Linked DNA regions of Homo sapiens: regions 1 and 2 are each linked to region 3. Evidence: promoter capture Hi-C in human tissues and cell types (Jung and others, 2019). All regions are on one chromosome and are shown on one strand. The core of a region is centred on a gene start or on the middle of the fragment in contact, and the rest is flanking DNA. Distances in the headings are between cores, read along the strand shown. Region 1 has its middle 540 kb from the start of TBX3. Region 2 has its middle 520 kb from the start of TBX3. Region 3 holds the start of TBX3 (T-box transcription factor 3).

Region 1 (3,091 bases), core at 184-2,683, 540 kb before region 3:
CACTCACTTCAAAATCACCTGAAATGTTTATTAAATGAATATTTCTGGACCTCACCCAAGACCTACTCAATTTTAATGTCTGAGATGGAAATGTGCATTTTTAATAATAAGGTCTCTGGTTAATTTGTATGCCCACAATTTGAGAGAATTGTTCTAAACGATTCAAGGACAACATTTCTCAAAGTGTCTTCATGAAAAACGATTTCTTTACTCTCCAAAGTTGGGGTTCATGGACAAAACAAGTCGGGAAGGGTTAATAAGATCTAAAGCTTTTTTGAAGATTTGCAATGTACATTAGCATACCAAAGGCTCTGAAAAGTCCTAAAGTAGAAAAATCTATTGAAGAAAATGTAACCAAGTATTTCCCAAGTATATCCCATATTTGATGATCAATTTTTTTTCTGCATACTAACCCCCTACCTCGCCCAGTCACCTATCAGGAGTGCCAGAAAATTAATGTTCTACAGAGCACATTTTTAGAAAAACAAATCTAGGTGATTGACATAAATTATATCTGTGGACACTCAGAGTTGGAGCTCATAAATAGCATTTGGTTGCCCAATAATGGAAATGTAAAATAAATGGATTCTAGCTTGAAAGGTGTGTTGCAGAGTTAATAGGAACCTACTCACCTCTATTGGAAGCTCTCCTCAGGAGCACTTAGGAACTCCCTAAAATAGAATACTTAATCCTTTACTCCTGACTCAGGCAAGGGGAAAGCAATGGCCTGGGTGATTCAGCCTTTTCCTCCCTGTTGAAACTGTTGACTTTGCCATATAACCTCTTTGATGGTGCTGAAGTCAGAACTTTGCTCATCTTCCAGGCACCCAGTTTAAAAGAGCTGAGATTAGCTCAATGACTCACGAGTTTTCCCTGTCACTTGCATGTGTTATTCCAGAACAGAACCCAGGCTGGCACCGCCATGTGTGAAATTCCTCGGTGCTGCTCAGGCCCAGCCCTCAGGCTGCTGGTTAGATGGCCCAGTCAACGTAACCTTCTCATGCCAATCCCAAAGCTTGCAGCCAATTGCCAAGGTGGACACTGGCTGACCTGAGTCAGGATGATGCAACTCTAGCTTCCTCATTCTCCCCATGCCCTCCTTCTTTGTAAATTCTGGTCAATTTCCAGAACTCAGAGCTAATGGGGGACCTGACTCGGCCACAAGAGTTTCAGGCAGCACCTAGTCCCTGAGCCCTATGACATGCCAGACAGCCCATGGAAAGTAAGAGGGAGAATCTTCCTCTTACTATTTCAGAATTTCTCAGCTGTTGCCTCAAAGTTAAATGCAGATGATCAATGAGTGGAAAATTGGCTTGGAAAGAGCAAATTGGATCTTGTGACATCGTGAGATTATTTTATAGGACACATGTAGCAGGTCAAAAGTTGGAGACCAGATAGACATTCTTCATTTTCCTTTCCAGTTCATTGATCCATCTGTTCAAGCTAGAATGCAGCCTCCCACTAGAATACGGGTTCCATGGAAGCATATCACTTTTCTGTTTTGTTCACCACTGTATTCCCAGGGCCTAAGTTAGTGTCTGGTATAAAGCAGATGCTCAACAAACAAATGCTTGTTGAATGAGTTCAACCAACGATTTGGTAGATTGAAGGTGGTCATAAATTGTTTGGACACTCTTAGGTTAACAGGTGATGTGTTTATGACTTCTTAAATCTGAGCTCTGTGACGGATCAATAGAATACAGTAGTTGAACTTTATACATGGTGTCTCATAGCACCAGAAAACCCAGGGGAAAAAAAGCAGTAAGGTTTCTTATGACCTAGCTTTGGAAGTTCCAGCCATTAGTTCCACCATATTCTGTTGGTCAAGTGAGTTGTTAAGGCCAGTCCAGATTCAGGGGGGAGGGTGTTTAGTCTCTGCTTCTCAACAATGCATGTAGCATGAGCTCCATTCCCCAAGGATTTAGCTATCTCCTCAACAGGAAGAGAAGCAAAGAATTTGTGACCATTTTTAATCTACCACACCTACCTTTCAGCATTGTTGAGAGGACTAAATAGGATGATTTATACCTGGTGTTTTTCTGCACGTTAGGAAAGACGTCCCTTCCTCTGGGTTAATACAGCTATTTGGCAAGCAGTGATTGGCCCGGGATTTAGCACCTCTGTGCCTCCTTAGCAAGCTGGTCTTGGGCAGGATGCAATCTGCAAAACTGTACAGAGCAATGCTGCCTAACACATAGAAAACCCAGCAGATGATATATATTGCTAAAATTAGCTGACACTGTCACTGCAAAGGGCATCAGCTGTTTTGGCCAACCTAATATCTATTTCTTTTCTTTCTGGTCTTAGCATGCTCATTTCCCTTTTTGAAACTTGTTCCCACCCACTGTTGTTACATGCAGTCTGCGTGGGACAGTCACTCAAACCCTGACTGCCTAGAGCTAAGAGGCTGTCATGTGATTCAGGTTGATCACATTACTTACTGCTACTTAGATCCCAAGTCCAACCAGCTCCCTGACCCCTCTGACGTCTGGTTCTTCTATTTTGTGAGCTACTTCTTCCAATTCTTCCAATACTAGCGTTTTGGGCTTATGTTAGCCAGAATAGGTTTCTGTTGCTTACAATCAAATAACCTATAAAGATAGCTATTCTGGCGCCTTGATCATACAGGTTTATTTCTTTTCCTGGATACACCCACACCTTGGTCACTGGGCTCTTTCTCATCACCTCTTAGTCCTAGCAGTTGGTAAAATGTCATCTCTAATATTTGGTTGGTATTTTCTCTTCTGGGTCAAACCATGAGCAAGTGGCTCAGTGCAATAAAAATCATGCATTAAGGTTGAAGTTGGTCAGTTCAAACATGTTCTAAATTCAAGCTGTGTGACCTTGGTCGAGTTAGCTAACATCTAAGTCTCTATTTATGTATTTTCAAAATAAGGATAATGCCTGTTGTTTACATAGGAAGGAGGTCAGTACCTGCTGGTTCCCTTCCACCTATCATGAGTGTCTGTTTGCTCAGCTCAGAGCTAGGCACTGGGAGGGATACAGAACTACGTGAGGCATAAAGCCTATGCTCATGGAATTTGGGGTTAGGGCATGCAGACTAAGCCACACAAAGAGACTAACAACTATA
Region 2 (2,832 bases), core at 20-2,519, 520 kb before region 3:
AAGTCTGTCTGATCCCTAAAGCCCCACTTTTAAGCACAGGTGATGCAACAGAGATAGAAAGAGTCCCTTCCTTTGTCCGCCTTCTTTTGCTCTCTTGTTAACTCCAGGCACGGGTGCCTCAATATGCTATGTCCCTGGTCAGGGCTGGGAAGCTTGCCGTCGCTCTGTTCCCAGCCAAGGCATGCTCTCTCTTCAGTTTCCATTCTTGAAATGGGCCAGAGCCTCTACATAGGGAAGAAAGAAGGTCTGCAGGCAGGCTTGGCCACCCAGCTACGCACAGCTCTGTGGGATTCCTTTCTTTCTGCTTTCCTCTGCATGTCAGCATGACAGAGACCAGCCCAGGCCTGGTGTGCCTGGACACTGTCTGTCCCAGTCTTGCCCAGAACGCCCCACAGGGCAGTCCTCCAATGCTGGAGGCAGACACCACAAGCAATAAACGAATGGGCTGACCACCGCTGGGCAGCTGAGAATAATAATAACAGTAACGAATTGCATTGTTTACTGCGCGTTAGGAACAGGGCTGCACTCTTTACAAATAGGACCCTGTTTAATCTTCACTTCATCCCAGTGCAGCCTTTCTTATTAGTTTCCTTTTTACAGATAAGGAAACTGAGGCTCACAGAGGTCAAACTCTTTGTCCCAAATCACACAGTTTTAAGGAGAAGAGCCAGGATTCAAAGGCAATTCTGTTTGGTTCCGAAGTCTGGTTGTTATTCTCTATGGTACAAAGCCTTACCTGTTTGGCTGCCATGAATACTTTTTTCTTCCTGTTTTATGCAATTGGTCCAATACCAAAGGCCAGCTGAGAAATTAGTGATTCCTCATCACAGCCAGTGACAGAGCACCTAGGCCATCTGGCCCTGCCTCTCCCTCACCCTGGTGTGTAAGGCTCAATATGATGAATGCAAATACATGCAAATCATATGCAGAGCTGTCTGTCCCATTTTCTGAATTCCAAAGGGGCCCTCCAGAAAACTCTAGATCAGTATTTCCTAAATTTTAGGTATTTAAATACCATTTATCAATTCATAAAATCTGCATGACTACTTACTAACATTTTTTCTTTAAACCCAACTTATTTTCTTTACCAAAATACATTCACCCCAAAAGAAGAAAACTGAAGTCACCAACATAAATAGAAAACCATTACCACTGACCACAAATAGAAATGAAACCTACCAATAAATGTAATGAAAACCTTACAATGGTACTAGTAATCTCAGCTTGGTATTGTGGCCTTCCTGAAACTTTCAGGAGGATATTCTCTCTCTCTCTCTGGCAAAGGAGGGAGTAAGCATTAACTACCACAAATTTAGCCATTGAAAACGAAATATTATATTACAGACCCGTAGGTCAGAAGTTTCGGCACGGCTGGTCTCTGTTCACTTCTGAAGGCCCTTGGGTTACAGAGCTGAGGTCTCCATTCCCTTGCTGGTTGTCAGCTGGGGGGCGCTCTTACCTCCAGGAGGCCTCTCTCTGGTCTTCATGCAGGGCCCCCCACCTCTCAGAACCAGCAATAGATCCTTCAGTCCTTGTCATGCTGCCATCTTTCTGGTTCTCTGCAGCAAGGAGAGGTTCTCACGTGACTACATTGGTCTCACATGGATAATCTGGTTTAATCTCCCTCACCTAGGGCCTTGACCTTACTCACACCTGCAAAGCCCCTTTGCCAGGTATGGAATATCTTCACAGGTGTGAGTATCTTTGGGGGCTGTTAATCTGCCTGCCACAGCACATTAGCAGCAAACTGAGATGGCCTTGGTAGAATTACAAAGAGAGAAGAGGGGAGGTGGAGGGAGAAAGAAAGCAAACAATCAGCTCACTGAATGACTCTATATAATTTAAAGTCCTGTCTATGAACCACCTAAAATCATTCCTGGAAAATTCCTTGCTCTCTCTTACATCTTGCCCTGCCATAATCACAGCTGATAAGCTTTAGATGGCCTCAGTGGAAGGCATTATTTCCTTATCCTGGTCTCCAGGTCTGGGTCTGGCCAGGCATTGAGCCTCCATCTAAAACAGGAAGGAAGCAATGAAATGTCTCAGAAAGACTCCCCAAGAAGTTCTCTTCTTCCTTCTGGGCTGCCTGAAGATCCCACAAAACTCTCTAAGCTCAGAGTTGGCCCTTCCAGGTTTACTTCCTGCCTGAGAGCAAAGGAGCCCCCTCCAGCACTCTGCACGCTGCCATGTGCCATTCAGCCATGATCCGTGCAGGCATTAACAGCAGGCCTGGGGAAGACAAGACGTGTGTGCAGAAAGCATTGGGTGGCTGGCTTCTTTCTCTAACAGGCCTGGTCTCTCGCCCTTTGCTAATTACTTTGATCCTTTGCACTTTGTAAAAAAGCCCCACAACACCAATTGGTCCCCTCTGGCTTTAACCTTGCAACCCAGTTGGCCCTTGTAAAAAGTGGGGGTGGGTGCCAGAGGGGGGCCAGGCAAGCCCACATACAGGCACACACATGTATCCAGATCTGCGCTGACTGCCCGGGGTCTGTTTCTTTAATGGTTCTCTCCCAGGACTCTCACAAAAAAGGACAAATAAAACCCTTTTTACAAGATGGCAAGGCTGCGTGTAACATCGACTTCATCAACAACCAGTTCTTTCGTGAGTTCCTTTGCCTTTTAACATACTTTCTTTCCAGATCTCACTTTCTGCAACTGGCTGGCTCCTTCTTGCTTGCTCTTGCTTTTTGCAGCTCTGGAAAGTCTCCTTTCCCACTCCCTGTCCCAGGCCCAACCCTGACCCTTGCCAAATCCTCACTTTCATCTGCTCTTGCTCCTTTTCCCCATTCTGTGAAGCTACCGAGGAAGCAAAGTGGATTTGCCATTTGG
Region 3 (2,927 bases), core at 244-2,743:
CGGTAACAGAGTTGGTAATTCGGCGATTGGTAAGATCCGGTCGTTTCCCTCCCGTCCGCCTAAGAGGAGGCCCCCACCCTACCCGTACTAAAAACAGTCAACTCGCCTCTGAGGTGGGGGCGTTTCACGGTTTGTTTTACAAATTCACCCTCCCTCCCCGACTTCTGGCCAGATTAAGTCCCCGGGGTGGAGAAAGAACTGAGGCACCGAGAGATAAGTGCGATGCCTAGAGAAGATACCAGGCTGGCGCGCCTCCCCCAACCCAATCGCCCACCCCTTACCCTGTGCTGTGCACCCAGCCGGGCCTCGAGGTGAGGGCAGCGGCTTGGAGGGGACAGGCTCAGAACCCAGTCTCTCGCTGTGCTCGCTTTGTCCAGATCCTCCATTCTCTTCTCTACACCCACACCCACATCCAGGTGGAATATGGGGGCCCGCATGCAAATGAAAGACGAGATCCAAAAGGGCTGGTAAATGCATTTCATAAAAATCCCAAATCCATCTTCCCCAGGAGCTCAGGCAGGGCCAGCCGCGCAGGCTGTGTACGTGTTTGTGTGTACGTGTTTTTCGGTGTGTGTTTCAGTCCCAGTGTGTTGGCGCGTGTTCGAGTACAGATACACCGGGGGTGTTTGGGTACCCGCACATGGCTGCGGGTGGGGCGCAGTGGAGAGGAAGCCCACACATGCGTGTGCTGAGATATGGCCGCATCCTTGTGCTCCCCCAGCCCAGACGCAGGGGAGACCAGCACCGAGACACCCGAGCTCGGGAGCCCTTCAGCGGCGGCCGGGCGGAGCTTGGCTCCACGTGGGGCTGGAGAGCACGCAAGCCTGGAGTCTCGGCGCTCGCTTCTCGGCTGCCGCCGGCTTTTGTAGAACCGAGTGGCCGGATGGCAGCTCGCGGGGAGGCTCGGCCACCCGCCCGGCTCGCCCGGGGCGGGGAGAAGAAGGAGAGCTGGAGAGAGAACCGGCCGCGGCGGTCGGAGAGGCGAGCGGAGTGCAAGAGAGGCGAGCGCCCCTGCCCGGCGCCCGGGCGCGCTCTCCGCCTTCCCCGCCCGGCTCGCCTGCTCGCTGGCTCCCTCCCTCTCTCCCTCCCCCTTCCTCCTTGGCCCTGCCTCCTCCCTCGATCCCCGGCTGGATGACTGAGGCATTTCAGACGTGGGCTGAACCAGAGCGAGCGAGCGAGCTCAGGGGCTGCAGCGATCTCTCGATAAGCCACCTAGAGGCGACTCTGTGCGCGCGCGCTCCCCAGTGGCTCCCGCCCGCCCTCTGATCATGTTGACATATTCACAGGACAGGCAGTAGTACCGATGCGGCGCTGCGACGTTACAGTTTCCGACACCTTCTTTTTATAACTCAGCTCTATCCCCCAGCACTCGACCTGTGAAAACCACGCCTATGCAGCAACACAATTGGTCCGAAAGCGTCAAAGAGCCAATCAAGAGGCCTCCGGCTCCCCGCAGCCCACAGCGCAGCCCGACCTTCTAGAGCCGCCGAGCAGACGCCCGGTGAATTCTAGAGGCGGCGGAGGGTGGCGAGGAGCTCTCGCTTTCTCTCGCTCCCTCCCTCTCCGACTCCGTCTCTCTCTCTCTCTCTCTCTCTCCCCTCCCTCTCTTTCCCTCTGTTCCATTTTTTCCCCCTCTAAATCCTCCCTGCCCTGCGCGCCTGGACACAGATTTAGGAAGCGAATTCGCTCACGTTTTAGGACAAGGAAGAGAGAGAGGCACGGGAGAAGAGCCCAGCAAGATTTGGATTGAAACCGAGACACCCTCCGGAGGCTCGGAGCAGAGGAAGGAGGAGGAGGGCGGCGAACGGAAGCCAGTTTGCAATTCAAGTTTTGATAGCGCTGGTAGAAGGGGGTTTAAATCAGATTTTTTTTTTTTTAAAGGAGAGAGACTTTTTCCGCTCTCTCGCTCCCTGTTAAAGCCGGGTCTAGCACAGCTGCAGACGCCACCAGCGAGAAAGAGGGAGAGGAAGACAGATAGGGGGCGGGGGAAGAAGAAAAAGAAAGGTAAAAAGTCTTCTAGGAGAACCTTTCACATTTGCAACAAAAGACCTAGGGGCTGGAGAGAGATTCCTGGGACGCAGGGCTGGAGTGTCTATTTCGAGCTCAGCGGCAGGGCTCGGGCGCGAGTCGAGACCCTGCTCGCTCCTCTCGCTTCTGAAACCGACGTTCAGGAGCGGCTTTTTAAAAACGCAAGGCACAAGGACGGTCACCCGCGCGACTATGTTTGCTGATTTTTCGCCTTGCCCTCTTTAAAAGCGGCCTCCCATTCTCCAAAAGACACTTCCCCTCCTCCCTTTGAAGTGCATTAGTTGTGATTTCTGCCTCCTTTTCTTTTTTCTTTCTTTTTTGTTTTGCTTTTTCCCCCCTTTTGAATTATGTGCTGCTGTTAAACAACAACAAAAAAACAACAAAACACAGCAGCTGCGGACTTGTCCCCGGCTGGAGCCCAGCGCCCCGCCTGGAGTGGATGAGCCTCTCCATGAGAGATCCGGTCATTCCTGGGACAAGCATGGCCTACCATCCGTTCCTACCTCACCGGGCGCCGGACTTCGCCATGAGCGCGGTGCTGGGTCACCAGCCGCCGTTCTTCCCCGCGCTGACGCTGCCTCCCAACGGCGCGGCGGCGCTCTCGCTGCCGGGCGCCCTGGCCAAGCCGATCATGGATCAATTGGTGGGGGCGGCCGAGACCGGCATCCCGTTCTCCTCCCTGGGGCCCCAGGCGCATCTGAGGCCTTTGAAGACCATGGAGCCCGAAGAAGAGGTGGAGGACGACCCCAAGGTGCACCTGGAGGCTAAAGAACTTTGGGATCAGTTTCACAAGCGGGGCACCGAGATGGTCATTACCAAGTCGGGAAGGTAAGCAGTGGGGGCCTCCTCCCCTAAGCTGTTGGAGAGTTTTTTCCTCCCTTTATTTCTCTGCTCCCAGA

The links. Contacts are between HindIII fragments. The study calls those that stand out against the background at their distance.
Region 1: a fragment that was not itself captured here is called in contact with the fragment with the promoter of TBX3 in region 3 in 3 of the 25 tissues and cell types used here (aorta, mesendoderm cells and thymus).
Region 2: a fragment that was not itself captured here is called in contact with the fragment with the promoter of TBX3 in region 3 in 2 of the 25 tissues and cell types used here (aorta and bladder).

The regions. Positions count from the first base shown.
Region 1 is chr12:115,225,166-115,228,256 of GRCh38, reverse strand. No RefSeq gene overlaps it. Among named protein-coding and RNA genes, the nearest start is that of TBX3, 540 kb to the right of the region's middle. The HindIII fragment of the contact is 3,416 bases long and covers 1-3,091 here.
Region 2 is chr12:115,206,891-115,209,722 of GRCh38, reverse strand. No RefSeq gene overlaps it. Among named protein-coding and RNA genes, the nearest start is that of TBX3, 520 kb to the right of the region's middle. The HindIII fragment of the contact is 4,919 bases long and covers 1-2,832 here.
Region 3 is chr12:114,682,741-114,685,667 of GRCh38, reverse strand. It overlaps TBX3 (T-box transcription factor 3), which reads left to right and starts at 1,493. Exons shown (of 7, transcript NM_005996.4): 1 at 1,493-2,856. The coding sequence starts at 2,468. The region is part of intron 1 of TBX3-AS1 (TBX3 antisense RNA 1); the gene reads right to left. RefSeq lists a promoter at 982-1,491. The HindIII fragment of the contact is 7,860 bases long and covers 1-2,927 here.